2 separate regions of the Homo sapiens genome follow, and region 2 is linked to region 1. The links are contacts of gene promoters, found by promoter capture Hi-C in blood cells and fetal thymus (Javierre and others, 2016). All regions are on one chromosome and are shown on one strand. Each heading gives the region's core, a stretch centred on a gene start or on the middle of the fragment in contact. The rest is flanking DNA. Distances are from core to core; before and after follow the strand shown.

Region 1 (4,816 bases), core at 1,636-4,135:
GCAGGAGGATCACTTGAGGCCAGGAGTTAGAGACCAGCATGGCCAACATGGCAAAACCTCGTCTCTACTAAAAATACAAAAATTAGCTGGATGTGGTGGTGCACACCTGTAATCCCAGCTACTTGGGAGGCTGAGGCAGGCAGGAGAATCGCTTGAACTCGGGAGGCAGAGGCTGCCTTGAGCCAAGATTGCGCCACTGCACTCCAGCCTGGACAACAGAGCGAGACTGTTTCAAAAAGAAAAAAAAAAAAAGACTGCATGACGAGGTGCTACAGGTTCAGAGCTCAGTCTAAAACTGCCCCTCACTTCAGACACAGTATGCCAGTGGTAACTGTCACTTATACTTTTGAGTGACCTGATAAATACTGTGGTTCTCTTAACCCCTCCTCGGCTTTGATTAACTTTCTAGGACAGCTCTTCCTTCTGACTGTTCATCTGTATCTTCTGTAATATCCTTCATAACAAATGTGTAAACTAAGTGAAGTGTTTTCCCTGAGTTCTTTGAGCCGCCCTCACAAATTAATAGAACCTGAGGTGGTGGGGAGGGGGATGTCAAGGGAATCCCCAGTGTATAGCTGGTCGCTCAGAAGTTCAGGTACCAACGGGAGACTTACAACTGGCACCTGATGCGGGGGCAATTTCGTGGAACTGAGCCTCAATCAGTGGGATCTGATGCTAACTCCAGGTAGAGAGTTTCAGAATTGAGTTAAACTATACGACACTCAGTTAGTGTCTGATAGAGAACGGGTTGTTGGTGGGAGAAATCCGCACACATTTTCGTGAGTGGAGGCGAGACACTGTGTAGAATGTGCCCTGTTGTATTGAGTGTGACAGGAAAGAAAATCAAAGGAAAAATATTTTTTCCTCTTAGTTCATACACTCGCCCACACCCTACCCTATTCCAGGAAAAGGGAAGTGGGTGGACTCAAAACTAAATGAGCGAAGTCACTGCCCTCTGGTTTGAATAGTGATTGCAAATGAAGCTATACCCTAATACTAATAATTGTCAAATGCACGTGTTACGCATTTTACATAAAGGAGTTTCTTCCATTCTCATTTGCAACTGCATAATTTAAGTAAACGTATTTTAAATGTGTTGCATTATTTTAAACCCAGAAACCAATGTCACAATGTCATCATCACATCTAATCAACGCACCACTCACCTGGACTCAGGGTCCCTCTCTTGCTTCCATACTGTGTGTTTCCCTCCCTCATCCTCTACATAGCTCTCATTCTCACATTAGCTTATTTTTTATTTTCTGTGTTTTTCCCCTGGTTCTTTGCGCGTCGTTCTGAGCCCCTCTCATCTCCTGCTATTTCTCCCCTTCTTCCTCCGCTTGCACCTGTTCTGTCCCATTCTGGGGCCTTGTTTCAACTCTGATTCCTCTTTCTCCCCAGTCTTTTCATTGTCCCCAGTCTCCATATATTTCTGCCTCTTTCTTCTCCCATCTCTGCTCCCTCTGTTGAATCTCCTCTTCCCTTCTACACCTCTTGCCCCACTCTCTGGCACCCCCAGATCCCAGGCCTCCCCCTGCTGTGGTTCTCCTTCTGCTCTCCTCGTCACCGGCTGTCCCCTCTTGCTGTCCCAGCACCACGCTGCTTGTCTGCCCTGGCTCCAAATCCCTCCTCCTCTCCCGGACTCTGTCTGAGGAGCCTCCCACTTTCTGGCCCTCTCCCTACCTTGCTGTCCTTCATGTCTCTGGACATCGAGCTTTTCTCTACATTTCCCCAGTTGCTTTTCTCCTTCTGCCTTCTCAGCTCCTTCTCTTACCATCTGCAAATCCCTCGCCCATCCTCTACTTTGCCATCTGGTTACGGGTTTCCCTCACTCTTTCCTCTCAGTTTTTCTACTTCTCTCTCTGTCTCTGCCCCTTTCTCTACCTGCTAATCCCCTTGGTCCACACATTCACAGGAAGGTTTGGACTAAGACGCCTGCATCTTGGAGGAGCGCATTTTCCAGGGGCTGGAGCTGGGCAGGCAAGAACACCGGGTGTCACAGGACAGGCCCCGGGCACCTCCCCAGCGCGGGCTCAGGAGAAGCGGGGACTGCGAAGGGGAGGCCTGGGGAGCAGCAGGGCCCGGCACGAGGAGGAGGGAGGTGGCGGGGCGACGGCGCCTTAGAAGAGGGGTGGGGTCTGCAGGATGCCAGGACCAGGCAGAGGACGCGGCCTCGCCGGTACCGGGGCTGAGGAGCTGCGCTCCAGGGGCCGACGAGGGCGAGGCTGGGAGGCACCCAGGGCGGGAATCCACCTCGCGGGCGAGGACTTTAAAAAGCCCGGGGCGGGAGGAGGGGTCAGGAAAGGGTTTTAAGCGGGAGGAAGACGCGAAAGGCCGGGGACAGGGAGAAGCCTCAGAGCTACTTCAACCCAAAGAGAAGCGACTCCGAACCCACACCGCGAGTCAGCTGGGGTGGAGGGCGCGGTGCGGGGATCTTAAGGTCTGTAGCTGCCGGGCGCAGTGGCTCACGCTTGTAACCCCAGCACTTTGGGAGGCCGAGGCGGGCGGATTACCTGAGGTCAGGAGTTCGAGATCAGCCTGGGCAACACGGTGAAACCCCGTCTCTACTAAAAATACAAAATTAGCCGGGCGTGGTGGCACATGCCTGTAATCCCAGCTACTCGGGAGGCTGAGGCAGGAGAATCGCTTGAACCTGGGAGGCGGAGGATGCGGTGAGCCGAAATCGCGCCATTGCACTCCAGCCTGGACAACAAGAGTAAATCTCCGTCTCACCAAAAAAAAAAAAAAAGAAAAAAAAAAAGGTCTGTAGCGAGCCCGGGAACTGGCTGCGGAAACGGGGCACGGCGGTTCGCAAGTTTAATCCATACTGAGGGACACTCACGCTCGGCGGCGTCACCCGCACCCAACACGATCCGCTTCCGGAACTGCAGAAAACTGCGCGTGCGCGGAAAAGAGCCCGGGCACTCTGGGGGCGGGGCCTGGGGAGAGGCGGGGTCTGCGGACGAAACGCTGGGGCGGAGCTGGGGCGGGGTCTGCGCTTCCCTCAGCCTGCCTAGCCCGCAGTCTCATTTTTCCCGGTTTAGAAACGCTGGAGTGTTCACTATGTCCCCGGGAGCACCGTTCCAATTTGAAGCAGTTTTAAGGTGAAAGAATAGACTTACGTGGACCACTTATGATAGAAACCAAAATGATTTCCTCTTACCAAGTTGAAAACGGTTTATGTTAAAATTGTTTGCCGGCGGGTTGGACCCAGTCCTGCTAGGGAGTCTGCTGCAGCTCAGGAACGGGGATCTGGGAATCGGGGATCTCGGTCTGGGAACTGGGATCTTAGTGGAGGATCCACGAGGCACGGCGATTGGATCCAGCAATTCCTGCAATTAAAATGTATTTAATTTAACTAAAATGTCTGGAAATTATCTCTGAGGATGATTCAAAGTAGAATGGGAAATGCAGCATCCTACCTGGACGGATATGCAATTTAATGCAGTAGCCCAACAGAACCTCCTTTACATTTCAAATCCCCATTCTCCCCAGTGGAAGAGTCAAGCCTGTGCTCAATTCATGGGAAGGTTAAGGCCGATAAGTTAGATCACCAAGGGCTGCTTTATTGTTCTTTAAAACATATATTTTTGTAAAGATGGGAGTCTCGGCCCAGGCTGGTCTCCAACTCTTGACCTCAAGCAATCCTCCTGCCTGGGCCTCCAAAATTGCTGGGATTACAGGAGTGAACTACTGTGCCCAGTCAACTACTGATTTAAACCATGTGAATTTTTAAAAAATAGAGATAAACTGCATTATTTTTGCTTATATTCGTTATTCCGTTCCACACTTGAAATGACTTAACCACAAACAACTTTGACATAATCTTTCTTTGCATCAAAATATGCTTAAATCAATAATTTCTAAATATCATGTAATTTCAAATTCACTTTATGGGCATTCTGAAGGGAACTTGACACAGTACTTTTTATTTTAAAATTGTAATCTATATTGGGTCTATTTTTTTGTTTTCTGTTTCTTAATGTTCTATCAGATGTGGATAACAGAGTGTGGAAAATAGTCACCACATGACAATTGGATTTATTTTCGCCTAAAGAATAGTTTTCCAGTATTTCTAACGTACCATCCCAGTACATTGACTGAACTAAAGACTCACAGGGATACCCTTTTTTCATGTTTATAGAGAACCTAGTTTATACCTGCTATTGTCTTATGTACATTTTCATGTCACACAATTTTATCTCCAAACAACACCCTTATTTATATACACCGTATAGTTTTCACTTTAACAAAATATTAAACGTTTCATCTGGGTTACAATATATGAAAGAAAAAAATAAAAGGGAAAATCATATTAAAAAATAAAAAGTAATTTTACTACAATTGAACATAAACCATGAAATATATTGCTCAATACCATAAACTGAAAATAACATTTCCATAGCCTTTGGAGAAATGCCCTTCCAGTAAAACTGCTTAATCATATTTATTATGTAAGAAACTTTTCCACAGATTTTCACTGAGTTAGTATAAAAACATCTTAGGCATTATAACTAAACAGGATTTCAAAAACATTTTCAACAGTTGTGTTATTTTTAATGAGTCCTATGGGTACAGCGGAAGAATAAATGTAGAATATTACTATCAAGAAAACTAGGGCAGGGCGTGGTGGCTCACACCTGTAATCCCAGCACTTTGGGAGGCAGAGGCGGGTGGATCACTTGAGGTCAGGAGTTCGAGACCAGCCTGGCCAACATGGTGAAACTGTCTCTACTAAAAATACAAAAATTAGCCAGGCGTGGTGGCACATGCCTGTAGTCCCAGCTACTTGGGAGGCTGAGGCAGGAGAATCACTT
Region 2 (4,816 bases), core at 888-3,387, 990 kb before region 1:
CAAGAGAATCACTTGAACCTGGGAGGCGGAGATTGCAGTGAGCCGAGATGGCACCATTGCACTCCAGCCTGGGCAACATGAGCGAAACTCCGTCCCAAAAAAAGAAAAAAGCAAATCCATTACCAAAAAAAAATAAGACTCTGAATACTCATACAAAGATATACCTCGTAGGCCTGGCGTGGTGGCTCCCGTCTGTAATCCCAGCACTCTGAGGCAGAAAGACTGCTTGAGCCCAGGAGGTTGAGGCTGCAGTGAGCGGAGATCATGGCACTGTACTCTAGTCTGACAGAGCAAGACCCTGTCTCAAAAAAGAAAAAAAAAAAAAAAAGACATACCTTGTAGTGACAGTGACAGTCATTTATCGCCCCATTTCTCAGTTACTCTATCCTCTACCCCATCCCAGGGAAGAAAAGAGTTACCACGAATGACTTAATTTAAATGCTCTCTGGCTAAACAGAAATTCCAAATATCTTTTGATACAAATAAATACAAAATGCACAAGCCTTACAGAAAAGAGTGGTAATTTTCATCCTCACGAGTACAATTTAAAGAAATGAATTTTAAATTAGAGTATAAAGTCACAAATTAGAATATTACAACCACCATCCATATCCAATCAACTCATCGCTCATCTGGATGGGGTCCTCTCCCACTTTCTTCACTATTGTGTGTGTCCCTCTCTCATTCTGCACCTTTCCTCCCCTTTTCTGTTTTTCTCCTCTTTATGTCTGTTCTGCCCGATGCTCTGCAACTTACTTCACCTCTCGTAGCTCTTTCTCCCCAATCTTTCTGATTGTCCCCAATCTCCACGTATTTCCGCCTCTTTTTCCCCATCTGAGCTCCCTCTCTGCTCTCCTTGTTAAAATTCCCTCTTACCTGTTACACCTCCTTTGTTCCCACTCTCTAGCACCCCCAACTCCCTAGGCTTCCTCCCTGCTGTGGTTCTCCCTCTACTCTGCTTGTCACCCACTGCCCTCTCTCCCTCTCTTTCAGTCCCAGCACCACGTAGCTCTGTCGGCTGCGGCTCCAACTCTTTCACCTTCTCCCCACTGTCTGTCTGCAGTGCCTCCTCCTTTGCCGCCCCACTCTATTTTGCTGCCTTTCATCTCTCTGAAGGTCCCCCTTTTTTTCTAAATTTCTCTGTGTGCTTTCCTCCCCCTGCTTCTTTCTCCATTCGTTCTCTTTCACTCTTGCTGTCTCTTTGCAAATCCCTAAATTATCATCCATTTTGCCGTGTATTTATGGGTCTCCCTCATTCTCTTCTATTCGGTCTTTCCTTTTGCTCCGTCGCTCCCCTTCTTTTCCTCTCCTGATCCCTCTCACCCACACATTCAGTAAGAAAGGGGAGGAATAGGATGCCCACCTCCCGGAAAAGCATATTTTCCAGTGGAGTAAAATTTGGGAAGGAAGAACACTGGGTGTCACAAGACTCAGGTGACCTCCCCCAAGGGGGGGATCGAGAAAAGCAGTGGCTGTGAAGGGGAAGCCTGGGGAGCGAAAGGACCCGGCGTGAGGAGGACACAAGGTGGCAGGGGGTACGGTGTCTCAGGACAGGGAGGGTCTGCAGAATCCCAGGACCTGGGAGGAGAAGCGACTCCTTCAGGAGCCGGACGGCGGGCGCTCCCCTCCAGGGGCTGACGACGGAGAAGCTCCGGGGTCGCAACGGGCGGGAATCCACCTCCCGAGTGAGGACTCGACTTGGCGCAGGGCCGAAGCAGAGGTCAGTAAGGGTTTTAAGCAGGAACACGACCTGAGTGGGGTTGTCTACATGGTCCTAAGGCAGAAAGGCAGGGAGCAAGGAACAGCCTCAGAGAGATTTTTAAACCGAAAGGGAAGCAATTATCAGACTTACTTGGGGCGAAGGGGCTGTTGCTGGTATTTTAAGGTCCGTAGCGATCCCCAGGAAACGGGTATGGACAAGGGAAGACTGCCAAGTGCACGTTCGATTCAGGCAGACGGGGCGAAGCAAATGTTTAGTCCAGGTAGACGGAAACTGACGCGCAGCGCTGTGATCTTTTCCCCGCGCGATCTGCTTCCGGGTGTGCAGGAAGCTACACGCCCTGAGAAAAAAGACTGAGAGACCTGGGGCGGGAGAGGGGCCTGGGCGGGGTGCGACCCGCAAGGGAAAGGGCAGAAAGACTGGCCAGATTTGGGAACCCTGAAAGGGTGGGGCAAGGCTGATGCGGTAGTGGGCGGGGCCAGGTGGGCTAAGCGGGACGGGCGGTGTGGGCGGGACCTGTTTGGTGGGCGGGGCCTGTTATTCGCTCTGCCTTCCACCCAGCAAGTCTTTGTTCTCCCGATTTAGGAGTATTTGTGACTATTTCTTGTCCTGTGAAGCAGCGTTGCTTCCTGCCTATTTTAAGTTAATGTTTTAGACTTTAAGGTCAAAGCTTAAAGTTGTGGTCCACTTCTGTTGGAAACTAAGATGTTTTCTTCTTGTCAAGTTGAACTGATTTAAGTCAAAATCGATTTTTGCGAGCCTGGTGGACTCCATCGGGTCTTGCCAGTGAGGCTGAAGCCAGTTAAGGCTGAAGTTACTCAGTAGTCAGGGAACTAGGATCTCCGTGAAGATCTGATGTGCAGCCGTGGCTGGATCCAGGAACCCTGAAGACATTATGCTAAGCGAAATGTGCTAGACACAGAAAGACAAATCCTGCATGTGCTTACTTACATGTGCAATCTACAAACATCAAAATTACAGTAACAGAGTAGAAGGGTGGTTTCCAGGGCTGACGGTCTATCCTGTGCCTGTCCCACCATTGTATTTTGGAAGCAAATAGCTTCTTTGGCTTCACAGTTTCACAGCTGGACAGAAATTTTGCCTCAGGATGAACCACACTTTGAGTCTCACCCATATGTGATTCAGATAATATTTGGGTAATATTTGGGCCTTAGAGTTTGATACTGAAATGGATTAAGACTTTTGAAATGGGCCAGGAGCAGTGGCTCTGGCCTGTAATCCCAGCTCTTTGGGAGGCCAAGGTGGAAGGATTGCTTGAGCTCAAGAATTCAAGACCAACCTGGGGCAACATAGTAAGACCCTTGTCTCTACAAAAAATACAAAAATTAGCCAGGCATGGTGGCTCACGCCTATAGTCACAGCTATTTGGGAGGCTGAGGTGGGAGGATCTCTTGAGCCCAGGGGATCAAGGCTGCAATGAGTTGTCTTTGCACCACTGAACTGCTGCCAGGGCAACAGAGTGAGACTCTGTCTCAAAAAATAATAATAATAAGACTTTTGAGATGTTAGGATGGGGGTGAAGGGATCTTGCATGTGAGAAGGACATGAATTTTGGGAGTCCAGAGTACAGAATGTTATGAGCTGAATCACGTCCCTAAAAAATCATTGTTGGCCAAGCGCGGTGGCTCATGCCTATAATCCCAGCACTTTGGGAGGCCGCGGCGGGCGGATCACAAGGTCATGAGATCGAGACCATCCTGGTTAACACGGTGAAACCCTGTCTCTACTAAAAATGCAAAAAATTAGCCGGGCGTGGTGGCGGGTGCGTGTGGTCCCAGCTGCTCCGGAGGCAGAGGCAGGAGAATGGCGTGAACCCAGGAGGCGGAGCTTGCAGTGAGCCGAGATCCAGCCACTGCACTCCAGCCTGGGCGGCAAAGCGAGACTCTGTCTCAAAAAATAAATAAATAAATAAAATAAAATAAATCATTGTCTTTAAGTTCTAACACCCAGTACCTCAGAATATGACTGTATTTTGAAATAGGGCATTTAGAGGCTATTAAGTTAAACTAAGCTTGTTAGAATGGGCTCTGATGCAATCTGACTGATGTTTTGATAAGAGGAAATTTGGCTGGAAGCAGTGCTTCATGCCTGTAATCCCAGCACTTTGGGAGGTCAAGGTGGATGGATCACTTGAGCTCAGAAGTTTGAGACCAGCCTGGCCAACATGGTGAAACCCCATCTCTACTGAAAATACAAAAATTAGCCAGGTGTGGTGGCGCATGCCTTTAGTGCCAGCTACTCGGGAGGCTGAGGCAGGAGAATTGCTTGAATCTGGGAGGCAGAGCTTGCAGTGAGCCGAGATCGCGCCACTGCACTCCAGCCTGGGTGACAGGGTGAGACTCTGTCTCTTAAAAAAAAAAAAAGAAAAATTAGCCGGGTGTGGTGTCACGCACCTGTAATCTCAGCTACTTGGGAGGCTGAGGCAGGAGAATCGCTTGAACCCGGGAGGCGGAGGTTGCAGTGAGCCAAGATCGTGCCACTGCCCTCCAACCTAGGCTCAAAAAAAACAGTGTGTGGCACCTCCCCATTCTCTGTCTTCCTCCTGTCTGGGCATGTGAAGTACTTGCCTCCCCTTCACCTTCTGCCATAATTGTAAGTTTTCTGAGGCCTCTCCAGAAGCCAAGCAGATGCCAGCATCATGCTTCCTGTACAGCCTGCAGAGCCATGAGCCAATTAAACCTCTTTTCTTTATAAATTACCCAATCTCAGGTATTTCTTTATAGCAATGTGAGAACAAACTAATACACTGGCACTACAGGCATGTGCCACCACACCTGACTAATTTTCAAATTTTTTGTAGAGATAGGGTTTCACGTTGTTGTCCATGCTGGTCTTGAACTCCTGGGCTCAAGTGAGCCTCCTGCCTTGGCCGCCCAAACTGTAAAGTAGATAAAATTTAAAAAATGTATATTTTTCCAAGGCCGGGGGCTGTGGCTCACACCTGTAATCCCAGCACTTTGGGAGACTGACGGGGGCTGATCACGAGGTCAGGAGATCGAGACCATCCTGGCTAACATGGTGAAACCCCGTCTCTACTAAAAATACAAAAAATTAGCCAGGCGTGGTGGCACGCAC

Evidence for each region. Contacts are between HindIII fragments. The CHiCAGO score rates a contact against its expected background, and 5 or more counts as called.
Region 2: the fragment with the promoter of ZNF836 here is called in contact with the fragment with the promoter of ZNF347 in region 1 in 5 of 17 cell types (non-activated CD4 T cells, fetal thymus, M1 macrophages and 2 more); the score reaches 8.9 in non-activated CD4 T cells.

Annotation. Positions count from the first base shown.
Region 1 is chr19:53,156,168-53,160,983 of GRCh38, forward strand. It overlaps ZNF347 (zinc finger protein 347), which reads right to left and starts at 2,886. Exons shown (of 5, transcript NM_032584.3): 1 at 2,842-2,886. RefSeq lists an enhancer at 2,789-3,083 and a silencer at 2,819-3,068. The HindIII fragment of the contact is 5,586 bases long and covers 1-4,816 here.
Region 2 is chr19:52,169,484-52,174,299 of GRCh38, forward strand. It overlaps ZNF836 (zinc finger protein 836), which reads right to left and starts at 2,138. Exons shown (of 5, transcript NM_001102657.3): 1 at 1,853-2,138; 2 at 165-298. RefSeq lists an enhancer at 1,537-1,676 and a silencer at 2,257-2,306. The HindIII fragment of the contact is 2,622 bases long and covers 1-2,388 here.